Linked DNA regions of Homo sapiens: all the other regions are linked to region 1. Evidence: promoter capture Hi-C in 16 types of primary human blood cells and fetal thymus (Javierre and others, 2016). All regions are on one chromosome and are shown on one strand. Each heading gives the region's core, a stretch centred on a gene start or on the middle of the fragment in contact. The rest is flanking DNA. Distances are from core to core; before and after follow the strand shown.

What was found. The method cuts DNA at HindIII sites, captures the fragments that hold promoters and counts their contacts. A CHiCAGO score of 5 or more calls a contact.
Region 2: a fragment that was not itself captured here is called in contact with the fragment with the promoter of RPL7L1 in region 1 in 11 of 17 cell types (M2 macrophages, M1 macrophages, total CD8 T cells and 8 more); the score reaches 10.1 in M2 macrophages.
Region 3: a fragment that was not itself captured here is called in contact with the fragment with the promoter of RPL7L1 in region 1 in 16 of 17 cell types (naive CD4 T cells, megakaryocytes, total CD8 T cells and 13 more); the score reaches 30.2 in naive CD4 T cells.
Region 4: a fragment that was not itself captured here is called in contact with the fragment with the promoter of RPL7L1 in region 1 in 4 of 17 cell types (naive CD4 T cells, total CD8 T cells, naive CD8 T cells and 1 more); the score reaches 6.2 in naive CD4 T cells.

Annotation. Positions count from the first base shown.
Region 1 is chr6:42,877,806-42,881,145 of GRCh38, forward strand. It overlaps RPL7L1 (ribosomal protein L7 like 1), which reads left to right and starts at 1,811. Exons shown (of 6, transcript NM_001366481.3): 1 at 1,811-2,146; 2 at 3,056-3,161. The coding sequence starts at 2,106. RefSeq lists enhancers at 823-1,780, 1,523-1,992, 1,781-2,737, 2,013-2,072. The HindIII fragment of the contact is 10,267 bases long and covers 1-3,340 here.
Region 2 is chr6:42,635,583-42,638,922 of GRCh38, forward strand. UBR2 (ubiquitin protein ligase E3 component n-recognin 2) reads left to right here. Exons shown (of 47, transcript NM_001363705.2): 15 at 1,429-1,612. Among named protein-coding and RNA genes, the nearest start is that of UBR2, 73 kb to the left of the region's middle. The HindIII fragment of the contact is 330 bases long and covers 1,446-1,775 here.
Region 3 is chr6:42,653,484-42,656,823 of GRCh38, forward strand. UBR2 (ubiquitin protein ligase E3 component n-recognin 2) reads left to right here. Exons shown (of 47, transcript NM_001363705.2): 26 at 2,138-2,240. Among named protein-coding and RNA genes, the nearest start is that of PRPH2, 67 kb to the right of the region's middle. The HindIII fragment of the contact is 2,254 bases long and covers 486-2,739 here.
Region 4 is chr6:42,709,847-42,713,186 of GRCh38, forward strand. The region is part of intron 1 of PRPH2 (peripherin 2); the gene reads right to left. Among named protein-coding and RNA genes, the nearest start is that of PRPH2, 11 kb to the right of the region's middle. RefSeq lists an enhancer at 349-934. The HindIII fragment of the contact is 2,489 bases long and covers 534-3,022 here.

The DNA of each region.
Region 1 (3,340 bases), core at 561-3,060:
TGAAAGAGAATGAGCCTCCCTCTTTCAGTGTGTGACCTTGAATGCTGGGTTGTCCTGACACTTACTCATCAGAAAGTGACCTGTGCCCATGGCACTCTTTCCGGTTGGACTAGTTACATGGCAACACGAGGCCTTTAGCTGCCACCAGTATCAGTATCAATAGTGCCAAAATCGAGAAATTGGTGCTAGATCCTTAGGATCAGTGATGAGTAAGCAGTCATGGTTCCTGCCCCCCCTAGTATCATGTGGAAGAAATATTAAAAATATAATAATGTCCTGAGGGAAATCAGACACTACTCTAGAGTCTTACTAGTCAGCCCATAGACCAGTAGCACCAGCGTCACTCTGAAGCCTGTTAAAAATGCAGAATATTGGCCAGGTGCGGTGGCTCACGCCTGTAATCCCAGCACTTTGGGAGGCCGAGGCGGGCGGATCACGAGGTCAGGAGATCGAGACCATCCTGGCTAACAAGGTGAAATCTCTACTAAAAATTCAAAAAATTAGCCAGGCGTGGTGGCGGGCGCCTGTAGTCCCAGCTACTCGGGAGGCTGAGGCAGGAGAATGGCGTGAACCCGGGAGGCGGAGCTTGCAGTGAGCCAAGATCGCGCCACTGCACTCCAGCCTGGGCGACAGAGCGAGACGCCATCTCAAAAAAAAAAAAAAAAAAAAAGCAGAATATCAGCTCCCCACCCGGCCTCCTGAATAAAAATCTGTATTTTAGTAAAATCTTCAGGTGACTCCTATTCACTATTAATGCTTGAGAAGCGCTGCTCTGGAGGTTTCCAGAGATGATAAGACTTGTGTTGTTTTTCAGGATTTTTAATTTTAAAAAAAATTTATTTCTTGTTTTTTTTGAGACTGTCTCGCTCTGTCGCCCAGGCTGGAGTGCAAGTGGCACAAACTCGGCTCACGCAGCCTCCGCCTTCTGGGACTTCAGGCGCGAGCCACCACGCCCAGCTAATTTTTTGTATTTTTAGTAGAGACGGGGTTTCACCATCTTAGCCATGCTGGTCTCCAACTCCTGACCTCAAGTGATCCACCTGCCTTGGCCTCCCAAAGTGCTGGGATTACAGGTGAAAGCCACCGGCCCGACCTACTGTTTTTCAGGATTCTATATAGACTGGGAGGGAAGAACGCAAATTCCGGGCGATGAGAGCTGCATAAGGGTTTTATTTTTATTCTTTTTTTTTCTTTTCTTTTCTTTTTGTTTTTTTGAGACGGAGTCTTGCTCTGTCGCCCAGGCTGGTGGGCAGTGGCGCGATCTCGGCTCACTGTAACCTCCGCCCAAGACGGGGTTTCGCCGTGTTGGCCAGGCTGATCTCGAACTCCTGACCTCAGGTGATCCTCCCGTCTCGGCCTCCCTCCCAAAGTGCTGGGATTACAGGCGTGAGCCACCGCGCCCGGCCTGTGTAACGGTTTTAGACGGGAAGGAAGCATGTTGTAGTTTTCGGTCCAGCAGTAATAGTAACAAACATAGTGCTGACAGACACTGCTAAACGCTTTATCTAATCTCCTGTAATCCTCGTAACGCCATTAGGTAGACCTATTATTACTGTACACCCATTTTATGGGTAATGAAGCCGCAGTATAGAGGGGTTAAATAACGTGTTCAAGGACGCATCGACGGGGCCAAGCAGACGGAATTGCAGCTACCTGCTTTACCACTCTAAGTCCTCAACAAACACTTCCACCTACACGTGAGAGCCAAAGCCATAGCCTCCAAGTTTTTCCACAGAGCGAAAATGTTTCGCGGAGTTTGCCTGTCTTCCTCCCCAGAGACGCAGCACAGCCGCGCCGGAAGTGCGGCGCCGTAGCTAGGAGCGGACGCCATAGGTGCATTGTGGGAAGCACTTTGCTGTCCACAGCCAGGCCGCTTGTGATGAAACTGTAACTTACAAGAAAAGGGCTGGGTTTTGAAAATAACACAGGCTCTAAAAACCCTAAGAAGCGGTGCAACTTTTGGCAGGAATCGGGGTTAGCGGGACCTCAAGGGCTCACTGCGGCTAAGTGAACGCTGACTGGTCCTCCAGCGTGAGCTAGAACAGACGTCTCTATGGTCAAGTAAACAGAGCGTGTGCTGTCTTCCCCATGTGGTGGGGTTGCGCATGATCAGTAGCTGCACCACTAGAAAGATGGCGGAGCAAGAGTGAGTGTTTGGGGCTTTGAATATCTGGAGTGGGGTCTTGAGTATCCGGTGCCATCCACGGTGTTTATGCCTTGGTGGCGGATTCCTGTGGGCTCTAGGAATAGAAAAGGCCACAGTTTACAAAGGGTGGGGGTGAGGAGGAGTAGCGCTGTGGCGGAGGAGGGAGGGGACCGCGGTCAAGTTCGGGTTATCTGGAGAGGCGAGGATTGACTTCAGGCAGCGGGCTGGAGTGCCACAGTTGAATTCACCCAGCCCGACAAGTGTTAACTCTGCAGATAGGCCTGCCCCCGCCCCAACCCCATAGATTCGTCGCTGCTAGTGCCTATGAAGAACTGTGGCCGTGAAAACCCTGTTAACTTATACGAACCCAGAGGCTAAAGGATTCATTATTTTCCGAGGCTTTGGGGATGAGTGACTATTAGGGATGGATTTATGAGGCCTGGAGTCAGAAACCGCAGGTTTCAGGGGAATCTTTCTTCAGATACTTGAAAACAGTAATGTTCCCTAAAGCCCAGGATATTGAATTGGTTTGGAAATCCATTGAATGTTCGTTTTCTTTTTTGTTGTTGTTTTTGTTTTGAGACGGAGTCTTGCTCTGTCCCCCAGGCTGGAGCGCAGTGTCGGGATCTCGGCTCGGTGCAACCTCCGCCTCCCGGGTTCAAGCGATTCTCCTGCCTCAGTCTCCCGAGTAGCTGGGATTACAGGCGTGCGCCACCACGCCCAGCTGATTTTTTATTTTTAGTAGAAACGGGGGTTTCACCATGTTGGTCAGGCTGGTCTCGAACTCCTGACCTCAGGTAATCCACCCACCTCGGCCTCCCAGAGTGCTGGGATTACAGGCTTGAGCCACCGAGCCCGGCCAAGTGTTCTTTTCTAAATGTTATCTCTGATCTCAATTTTCTGCATCAGGCAAAGAAAAATCCCTTTGGTTCCAGAAAATCTCCTGAAAAAGAGGAAGGCTTATCAAGCCCTCAAAGCCACCCAGGCAAAGCAGGCACTTTTGGCAAAGAAGGAGGTAATGGTGGGGAACCAAGAGAAAGTAATTAGAATTTTTATTTGGTGAGTTTTATCCCGCATGTGTTGGACTACATTTGGTATTGACGAGCTCCCCCCAACGGTTTGACAGACCAGGTATAGTTGTCTCTCAGTGTCCTTAAGGGGTTGGTTCCAGGACTCCCACAGATGCCTAAATCT
Region 2 (3,340 bases), core at 361-2,860, 240 kb before region 1:
TGGAAGAGGGAGGAATAAGCAGAATCCTAAGTAAATTTCAAGGAGATCTGGAGAAAATAGTGGTGATACTTAGTTCATTAAACAGCGTATTTTCCTTCTCCACCTATAAACTCAGTAAAATTTTAAAATTCTACAGCCTGAGGAAAAACTTGAAAAATAGAGAAAGAAATAATCCAGATTGTCTCTTCCCTAATGTAACTATCTTTGTTTTTTTTCCATAATCCCTTCTAGACTTTGAGGATATAAAAATGGTAGTTTCTAAATTTATTCAAAAATAAAGTTTTATTATTGGTACATTTGTCCTGTGTCTTAAAATTATTTTGGCCTTCCTTTGGCGATAAAGTCTAGATGAGAGCCTGTATACATTATGAGGTTAGGGAGGTTTCTGTAAGGTCTGAACAATCTGTAAAAGTTAATGGAACAATGAGTAAATGATATTCCTGACTGAGAAGACAGCTGCATTATAGTCTGTGATGACAGGGACTAGGGTAGTCCTAGGAGCTATAGAAAGGTCTGTGGTTGGAGCACAGAAGTAGAGAACAGAGATTTGGGCACAGGAGTGATTTTTCGGGGCCTTGGCCATGGTTGTTTTTTTTTTTGTTTTTTTTTTTTTTGAGACACAGCTTACTCTGTTGCCCAGGCCAGAGTGCAGTGGTGCAATCCCGGCTCACTGCAGCCTCAACCTCCCTGGGCTTAGGTGATCCTCCCACCTCAGCCTCCCAAGTAGCTGGGACAACAGGCACACACCACCACACCTGGCTAATTTTTCTATTTTTTGTAGAGACAGGGCTTCGCCGTGTTACCCAGGCTGGTCTTGAATTCCTGGGCTCAAGCGATCTGCTTGCCTCGGCCTCCCAAAGTCTTGGAATTACCAGCGTGAGCCACCACACTCAGCCTGCATTTTATTTGAATTGAAGTGGGAAGCCTTTAGAGATTACCATCTCTCTATTAAATTCCCTGCTTCAACTCTTGCCCCCTTTATCCATTTTCCATACAGTGACATGATTCAATTTACATGTTTTTTAAAATTGCTCTGTATGGAGAATGGATGAAGGGGGCAAGAGTCAAAGCAGGAATTTAATAGAGAGACGCTTGGCAATGCCTTGGAGTTACTAGAGATAGAGAAAAGTAGCAAGTTTTGAGAGAAACTTAGAAGATGAAGTTGCCAGCTTGGTAATAGATTGGACAATGGGGAATGGGGGAAAGGAGGGTATTGGAATAACTTCTAGATTTCTGCACTATATGAGTAAATGTATCATTCACTGAGATGAGGGACACTGGAAGAGGGACCAAATTTGGGAGGGAGGATTGAGTTTGGTTTTGCCTATATTGTTATTTGAGGTACTTACTCACTGAATTTAAGGTGCTTATTCAATGTTGTAAAAACTCAACCTTTTGAGTAACTTACAGAAAAACCCTCTTTTTTAGGAAAAAGTGTTAATCGAAGCTTACAAGAAATGTCTCGCTGTACTGATGCAGTGTCATGGTGGTTATACTGATGGTGAACAGCCAATCACACTAAGCATTTGTGGACATTCAGTGGAAACTATCAGATACTGTGTTTCCCAAGAAAAAGTTAGCATTCACCTCCCAGTTTCTCGCTTACTTGCAGGTAAAGCATTTCCCCTAAAATAAAACCCTAAAATTATCTTTTAAATTGTTGTTTGTGGTTAATATCTGTGAATACTTACTTTGTGCCAGATGTTATTCTGTGATTTCTACATCATTAACTTATCCAATCATCACATCGTCCTGTGAAGTAGGTATTATTATTAAGCTTGCTTCATAGATGGGAAGACAGAGGCATAGAGAGTGACTTGCTTAGTAAGTCACACAACAAGAAAGAATCAGTTGGCATTATGAGGAAGTTTGGCACCAGAGGCCATGTTTATAGCCGTTATACCATAGTGCTTCTTTAGACAACTACAGATACCACGTTTTATCATTTCATCGAATCCAGCTTCAAAGTCTATGTTGTTACCATTCAAATTAATCTGTCACTTAAGCAATTGCTAATCATTTGAAGCCACCCTAGGTTTTCTATTCTCCTTTTTTTCCTCTCCCTCTGAGCTGTTTCATATATTTATTGATAGCTTTTTACGCAACAGGTCAAGAACAAGGACATAATGGGGTGATAATCTTTTAATTTCAAGTAGTTGATTTACAAGCCACTTGTAATTAATTGGTAGAATGTCTGAAGCTGCCATCTTATGTGGCCAAAGACTTTGAATATGCACTTATCCATCTCTGCAGACTCATTTCAGTACAGCTTTCATATTTCTTGATTCTAGGTATTCTTTTCTTGCTCGCACACTGTTGTTTTCTTTAGTTCCGTTTTAACTCAGAGAACAGAAAGAAATTTTGAAGGTATTTTTACTCATTGTAAAATATGTAGTTTATGTTAAGTTTGTGGCTCAGTAGCTTAATGTGATGTGAGGGTATGTTTTTTGTTTTGTTTTGTTTTTTTCTGGAGGAGATTGTAGAGAGTTTGTTTCATTTCTTCCTTAAATGTTTGACAGAATTCACCAGTGAAGTCATCTCATCTGATGCTTTAGGTTTTGGAAGGTTATTAATAATTGACTCAATTTCTTTAATAGATACGGGCCTGTTTAGGTTATCTTTTTCTCCTTGTGTGAGTTTTGGTAGTCTGTGTCTTTCAGGGAATTGATCCATTTCATCTAAGTTATCAGATTTGTGGGCCTAGAGTTGTTAATATTCCTTCATTATCCTTTTAATGTACATGGGGTCAGTAGTAATGATTCCTCTTTCATTCTGAAGGCATTTTTTTTCATTGTTCTGAGACCTATCACATTATCCCACTGATAGACCCTTGCCATGGGTATATTATTGAAGTCATGGTAATTTAAGATAATTACTTACTCTGAGGCTTATAAAGTTGTTATTCCTAGACATATGAATATCAAATGGTACAATAGACCATTACCTAGAATGAAATCATGATCGTAAGAAGAAATCTCTCTTATTTCTATAACTTGTTCAGGCCCAGTTTTGTTTTTATAAGTGTTTTGAGCAACTGAACTGTCAATCCTCAACACAGGCAATTGATGGCATGGTGTTGTGGAAAAGTATTGGACAGAAGGCAAGAAAGTGAGGCATGCGTGTGGAAGTAGCACGCAGGCGCAGCGTGGCATGCCCTGCACGTGCCCTTAAAAAAAAAAAAGGCAAGAAATTGAGTAATGAGTCCTGTCTCCAACTGAGCCACTGATCTCTTCTGCCTTTAAAAATCAGAGTGAGACTCTGTCTCAAAAAAAAAAAGTCTAATTTTATGGGAGGAAGCTGATGCTGATAGTTATCTACAGTGAAAAAAGTCAGTGCTCTA
Region 3 (3,340 bases), core at 363-2,862, 220 kb before region 1:
TGTTAGATGAGGAAGCCAAGTTTCAATGAGGTTCCATTAACTTCCCATATTAATCTACTAAGTGATATAACAATTATTCATTAAATAGAATGCCTACTTTATGCCTTATTCCATGCTAAGCCCTTTTTTTTTTTTTTTTTTTTTTTTTTTTGAGACAGTTTTGCTCTTGTCACCCAGGCTGGAGTACAATGGTGTGATCTTGGCTCACTGCAACTTCTGCCTCCCGGGTTCAAGCAATTCTCCTGCCTCAGCCTCCCAAGTAGTTGGGAGTACAGGTGCCTGTCACGAAGCCCAGCTAATTTTTTGTATTTTTAGTAGAGACAGGGTTTCACCACGTTGGCCAGGCTAGTCTCGAACTCCCAGCGTCAGGTGATCCACTCACCTTGGCCTCCCAAAGTGCTAGGATTACAAGGCGTGAGCCACCGTGCCTGGCCATGCTAAGCACTCTGCATACAGTATTTGTAATCCTCAGAACTCTAGAGGGAAGCTTTGTTTTTCCAAGGCTAAAGATGATGACTTGGGCTCAGAGGCGTTCCCTTAGGGTATATATTAATAGCTTGAAAGCAGTAAAACCAGGATTCAGATTCAAATTTTGGAGCCCTCCTCGGGAGGCTGAGTAGCTATCATTCTTTCTTTTTGTCTCACTGGCTAAGATGTGTGTATTCTTATAATGCCCTCCTATTTATCTATAAGCATATTTAAAGTGTAAAAGCATGGAGCTGTGGTGTACTAGCTCACTACTAGTACAGCTGTACTAGCTGTCGTGTACTGTCAGCATTACATGAACAAAAGATTTGTGGGAAATAATGGAGAGAAGAGGTGTGAACAATATTTACCTTACATGTACACTTGCTTTATGTCACCTAGTTCTTCCAAGTCTCTGACAACCACAGTCATCCCATGTGAAGGGAAAGATACAGAGACATCACACACATATCTCCTTCAAAATCTGGGGTGTGGGCCCGGCACAGTGGCTCACCCCTGTAATCCTAACACTTTGGGAGGCCAAGGCGGGTAGATCACTTGGGGTCGGGAGTTCAAGACCAGCCTGTACAACATGGTAAAACCCCATCTCTACTAAAAATAAAAAAATTAGCCAATCGTCATGGCACATGCTTATAATCCCAGCTACTCAGGAGGGCTCAGGAGAATCACTGGAAACTGGGAGGCAGAGGTTGCAGTGAGCCAATATTGTGCCACTGCACTCTAGCCTGGGCAACAGAGGGAGACTCCGTCTCAAAAAACAAAAAAACTTGGGCATGGGATAAGAGCAGTAAAAAAACAAATAGGTTGATACAGTCTCTAGAAGTCTGGTCAGGAATATTTTGTGAGATACACTGAAGAACTATAAAGTTTATAAATGATAAGGCATTAGAGATAAAAGTTTGTCTTTCTCAGATGATGAAGATTTAGTCCTTAGAGAAATTAGGTAGTGTCATAGACTGGATAATTACATGGGGGATACGTTTAGCTTTATAATTACTTGACCACTAATTCTTGGAAGGTTTTTTTAAGTCTGTAGTATAGGTATAGAATAAAACTTACATATTATGTGAATTGCTGGTCACAGCTGGTGTAATTTTAGCTTACCCTGAGGATTTGCAATTGAAATTTCTTCCTCATTGAAGTAGAAAATTTTGTTTTTCTTGACAATAATTGTTTGTTAGAAAATAAACCTCAGTCTTTTCATTTAATAAAAATTAGTACTTCAAGGCCGGGCATGGTGGCTCACGCCTTTAATCCCAGCACTTTGGGAGGCCAAGGTGGGCGGATCACTTGAGGTCAGGAGTTCAAGACCAGCCTGGCCAACATGGTGAAACCCCATCTCTACTAAAAGTACAAAAATTAGCCGGGTGTGGTGGCACGCGCCTGTAGTCCCAGCTACTCGGGAGGCTGAGGCAGGAGAATCACTTGAACCTGGGAGGCAGAGGTTGCAGTGAGCCTGGGTGACAGGGCAAAACTCCATCTCAAAAAAAAAAAAAAGAAAAAAAAATTAGTACTTCAAATTGTTTTTAATTGCATTTAGTATTTCATAGTTTGATTTATCTTTTTCAATAATTCTTTTTTCCTATTTCTTATTAAAATATGTACTTGATTTTTTAAATTTTTACTAAAAGTTACAAAACATTTATTCAAGGTGTTACATTTAATTGGCATGGCACTACAAGAAGAAAAACAACATTTAGAGAATGTCACGGAAGAGCATGTAGTAACATTTACCTTCACTCAGAAGATATCAAGTATGTATATATCTTTTTACTAAACTAACTCAAGATATAAATGATTTTAAGAAATCACTTAATAACCTCTTTTATTTGATCATATAGATTCTAAAAGGGTAATATTTAATCCAAACATTTGAGGCTATATGTACTCATCTGTGTAGTAAAGGTACTGTATTAAACCCTGATACATTTTTATAAAAATATCTAGGGCTAAGTTCAAAGTTACAGTCAGCTGTGGTTGACGTAAGATTCTACAGTATTGAAAATAAAAAAAAATTATAGGGGATTAGATTGTCATTTCATATAAAGAAATGTGACTTTTTAAAAGAAGGCCAGGGAGTTTTTCTAGCTTTTTATTTTAAAAATTTCATACATATAGACAAGTTGAAAGAATTGTCCAGTAAACATTCATATACCTGCTCCCTAGATTCAGTAGTTTGCTATATTTGCTTTTATATTTACATACTTTCTTGAACCATTTGTTGTAGACATAATATTTCATGTCTCAAAGAAAAGCTTCTCATTTACTAATTTTCAGAACCAGCCATTGGTCTGATAGTTACCTGCAATTGTGGCAATTTTGAATGTTTTTTGTTTAGAGTTTTTTTAAATATTATTCATGGATTTTTATTCAGTGTTTTATAGTCACTTATAATGGGTATTCCTTTTGATGCTCAAATTATGCCCATTTTGGTCAGTGGGAGTTTATTTAGTCAGCTTCTGTGTCCTTTTCACCCAGCCCCATTTGTATTTGAGTACCACCTCGCTTTCCAGCCCAAAAGATGCCCAAGCTCATCTTGTACTTTCCCTGCCACAGACCTGTAGTCAGCCATTTGCTGAAGTGTTTTTAAATGAATTGATGGTGCTATGATAGGAGTTTATAAATGCTTTGATTGAAAAGGATTATTTCTGTAACTGTGTTCAGTGCCATTTCTTCCTAAACGATAACTGTGAGAATTATACTACCAGGGGACAAGGAGGAAGTAATTTTGTTTGCTGCTAGATCTCTAGTTTTCCTTTTTGCCCTCATCCAAGTAAATGAGAGAAAGAGGAGAAACCACCTTTTCCCACTGAAGACTTTATTCTTGGATGCCAGTTTTTACCTATTCTTTTTC
Region 4 (3,340 bases), core at 528-3,027, 170 kb before region 1:
CTGTCCCAGGAGTCCTTTCCTAGCCACCACCACCTACCCTCAGGTACCTACCAGGTGGCCCTAAGGTGGAGCAAACCTTGCACACCCGCCTCATGCACACTAAGGTGTCTGTGATGTGAGGGTCAGGCCTAAAACTGTGTGGGCTGAGGCCAGCAGAGGCTCTGAGCCACCCTCAGTCTGCAGGCTGGGCTTGCGGACATTCCCCGTCTCCCCACCTCGCCTCCCTGAGCCCCCAGACAAGTCACCCTAATGGTCTCCACCAGGCTGTCTCCCCTCACACTGGGGCTCCCTGAGTCAGGGCTGTGTCTCCCCCTCAGACTGGGGCTCCCTGAAGACGGGGCTGTGTCTCCCCATCAGACTGGGGTTCCCTGAGGACGGGGCTGTGTCTCCCCTCAGACTGGGGCCCCCTGAAGATGGGGCTGTCTCCCCTCAAACTGGGGCTTCCTAAAGACAGGGCTGCGTCTCCCTCATACTGGGAACTTCCCAGTGTATTCCCAGGGGCAACATCCAGGTCAGCCTGGGGGAAAAGGCCAAGCTTGGTGAACGTTGGGACCTGCCTGGGTCACCAGCCTGGGAACTCCTGGGGTCTCTCACTTCTGGAGCTATCCCTCCCCCACTCCAAACATCATCTTGTTTACTCAGTGCTTGCCCTCATTCCAACCACAGATTAAGGCTCCTCTCACCCTCTTAAGACAAAGCCAGGCAGAGGAGAGCGCCTTAGTGGTGAGCCGGCTATTTATATCACAGCGTGTTTCCCAGGCTACGAATTTCACTCTGCGCGGAAGGGGCCGGGGGCGGTGGAGGAGGAGTCACTAGGGTTTGAAAGGGTCTTGATTAAGATAAGAACTATGTTCTAGGCCACTCTCCCATAAGCAAGGCACAAAGAGCCTGGGAAAATGATCACGTCTGAGTTTTTCCAGAAAAACCAACATAATTTAGTAAGTGAATCAAATTAGTAAAGCCAGCCATAGGGCAATGAGCAGGGGTATACCTGACAGTGGGTCATGCCAAGCAGAACGCTGGCTGAGGGACACCTGTGAGACCTTGAGAACTGGCCTAACCTCTCTGAGCCTGAGTTTTCTCATCTAAGAAATGACATTTTAAACACTCGACAGGGGATGGTGGAAATTAAATGGGATCATACACGTGGAGCATTTGGTACACACTATGTGCTTAGTATGCTTTGATGATTGCTTTTTTGTGTAGTGCTGTGGTTTGAATGTGTCCCCCAAAGTTCCTGTGTTGGAAACGTGAGGCCCAGCATGACAGTGGTGAGAGATGGGACCTTTGAGAGGTGACTGGATTACAAGCGCTCTGCCCTCATGAGTAGATTAATGCCATTATCATGGGAGTGGGTTCCTGAGGAAAAGGATGAAATCGGGCCCCTCAGCAGATGCGGGCCCCTCCACCTTGGACTTCCCAGCCTCCAGAACAGTAAGAAATAAATCTCTACTCTTTATCAATTATCCAGACTCAGGTATTCTGTTATAGCAGCTCACAGTGAAGTAAGAAAATAAGTCACTGAGTGTGAGGTACTAGACGGTGAGGGGTGACATGAGGAGGAGACACAGCCCCGTCCTCAGGCAGCCCCAGTCTGAGGGGGGAATGCAGCCCTGTCCTCAGGGAGCCCCAGTCTGAGGGGAGATGCAGCCCTGTCTTCAGGGGACCCTAGTTTGAGGGAAACACAGCCCCATCCTCAGGGAGCCCCGGTCTGAGGGGGACACAGCCCCATCCTCAGGGAGCCCTGGTCTGAGGGGAGACATAGCCCAGCCCTCAGGAAGCCCCAATTTGAAGGGGAGACACAGCTCTCTTCAAAGAGTTCCCGTCTGAGAGGGGAGAAACCCCATAGAGTCAAGTTCTAATCTTCTCCTTGAGATGTCTACGAATTGTTTAAGAAGAGCAAGCAGGTACCTGTAGTCTGTGGGTTCCCTGGGAAGAATGGTGAAGAGCAAGAGCTTGGTGCCAGCTTCTCCCTCAGACTGGGGACCCCAGGCTGGGCCTTCCTGGCTGGTAGTTCCTGGTTCCAAAATGTCTGAGCTCCCGCATGTTCTACCTCTCACCCCAAGACACTGCAGCTCTGCTCATCCTGCAACCTTTAAAAGAAGTGTTGTAAACTGACTGAAGACCTCATGTCCTTCCTCATGTGCTACGGTAAGATACACAGAGCGGCACTGTAGGAAATGTTCTTGCCACAACTGAGCCTGATCCAACCATACCTCGACCCAGACTACTGGTTTATGAGGAAATACAGGGGACAGAAGAACAAGTTAGACAACACCATTTGGCTGCAATTGCCCAACTCCAAACTATGGGGGATTCTGCAGGACACGTGGCCCAGTTTCTCTCACACATATGGTATGAAAAAGGGGACAGTTTTCTAGTAAAACAGACAGGAAACCAAACAACCAAATGCAAAGCATGGACTTGGTTTGGATCCTGAATTGACCAACTGTAAAAAGCATTCCGAGACTATCAGGGAAAACTGAACATAGACTGGGTATTGATTGATATTGCCATTAAATCTGTTGACTATGACTGGTCTTGTGCTTATGTTCAGCAGAAACAAAAGGGCAAAAAACAACTAAAGCCTCTTTATCTGTTGGAGATGCCTATTAAAGTATTTACAGGTAAAAGGAAAGTATGTCCAGGATTTGCTTTAGGATATTCAGAAGGGGAAAATGTGTTTGGGGGAGGGTAGTATAGATGAAACAGGCAAAATATTGATATTTGTTCCTAGGTGATGGCTAGGTGATAGGGACGGGGTTTCACCATGTTGGCCAGGCTGGTCTTGAACTCCTGACCTCAGGTGATCCACCCGCCTCAGCTTCCCAAAGTGCTGGGATTACAGGCATGAGCCACTGTGCCCAGCCTGTTTTTTCCTTTTTTTTTTAGAGACCTTGTGCTCAAGTGATCCTCCCACCTCAGCCTCCAAGTAGCTGGAGTTACAGGTGTGTTGCCACCACACCTGGCTAGGTGATGGCTACATGAGAATTAATTATAATGAACTCTCTAATTTTGTGAAAGCTTGAGTTTTTTCTATAATAGAAGTCGGAAATGCAATAAAATAAGATAAAAGAGCATCAGTTGAGAACTACAGGCCTGGCACAGTGGCTCATGCCTGTAATCCCAGCACTTTGGGAGGCCAAGGTGGGTGGATCACCTGAGGTCAGGAGTTCGAGACCAGCCTGGCCAACATGGTGAAACCCTGTCTCTACTAAAAATATAAAAATTAGCCAGGTATGATGGTGGGCACCTGTAATCCCAGCTACTTGGGAGGCTGAGGCAGGAGAATTGCTTGAACCCTGGAGACAGAGGTTGCAGTGAGCCGACATGGTGCCAC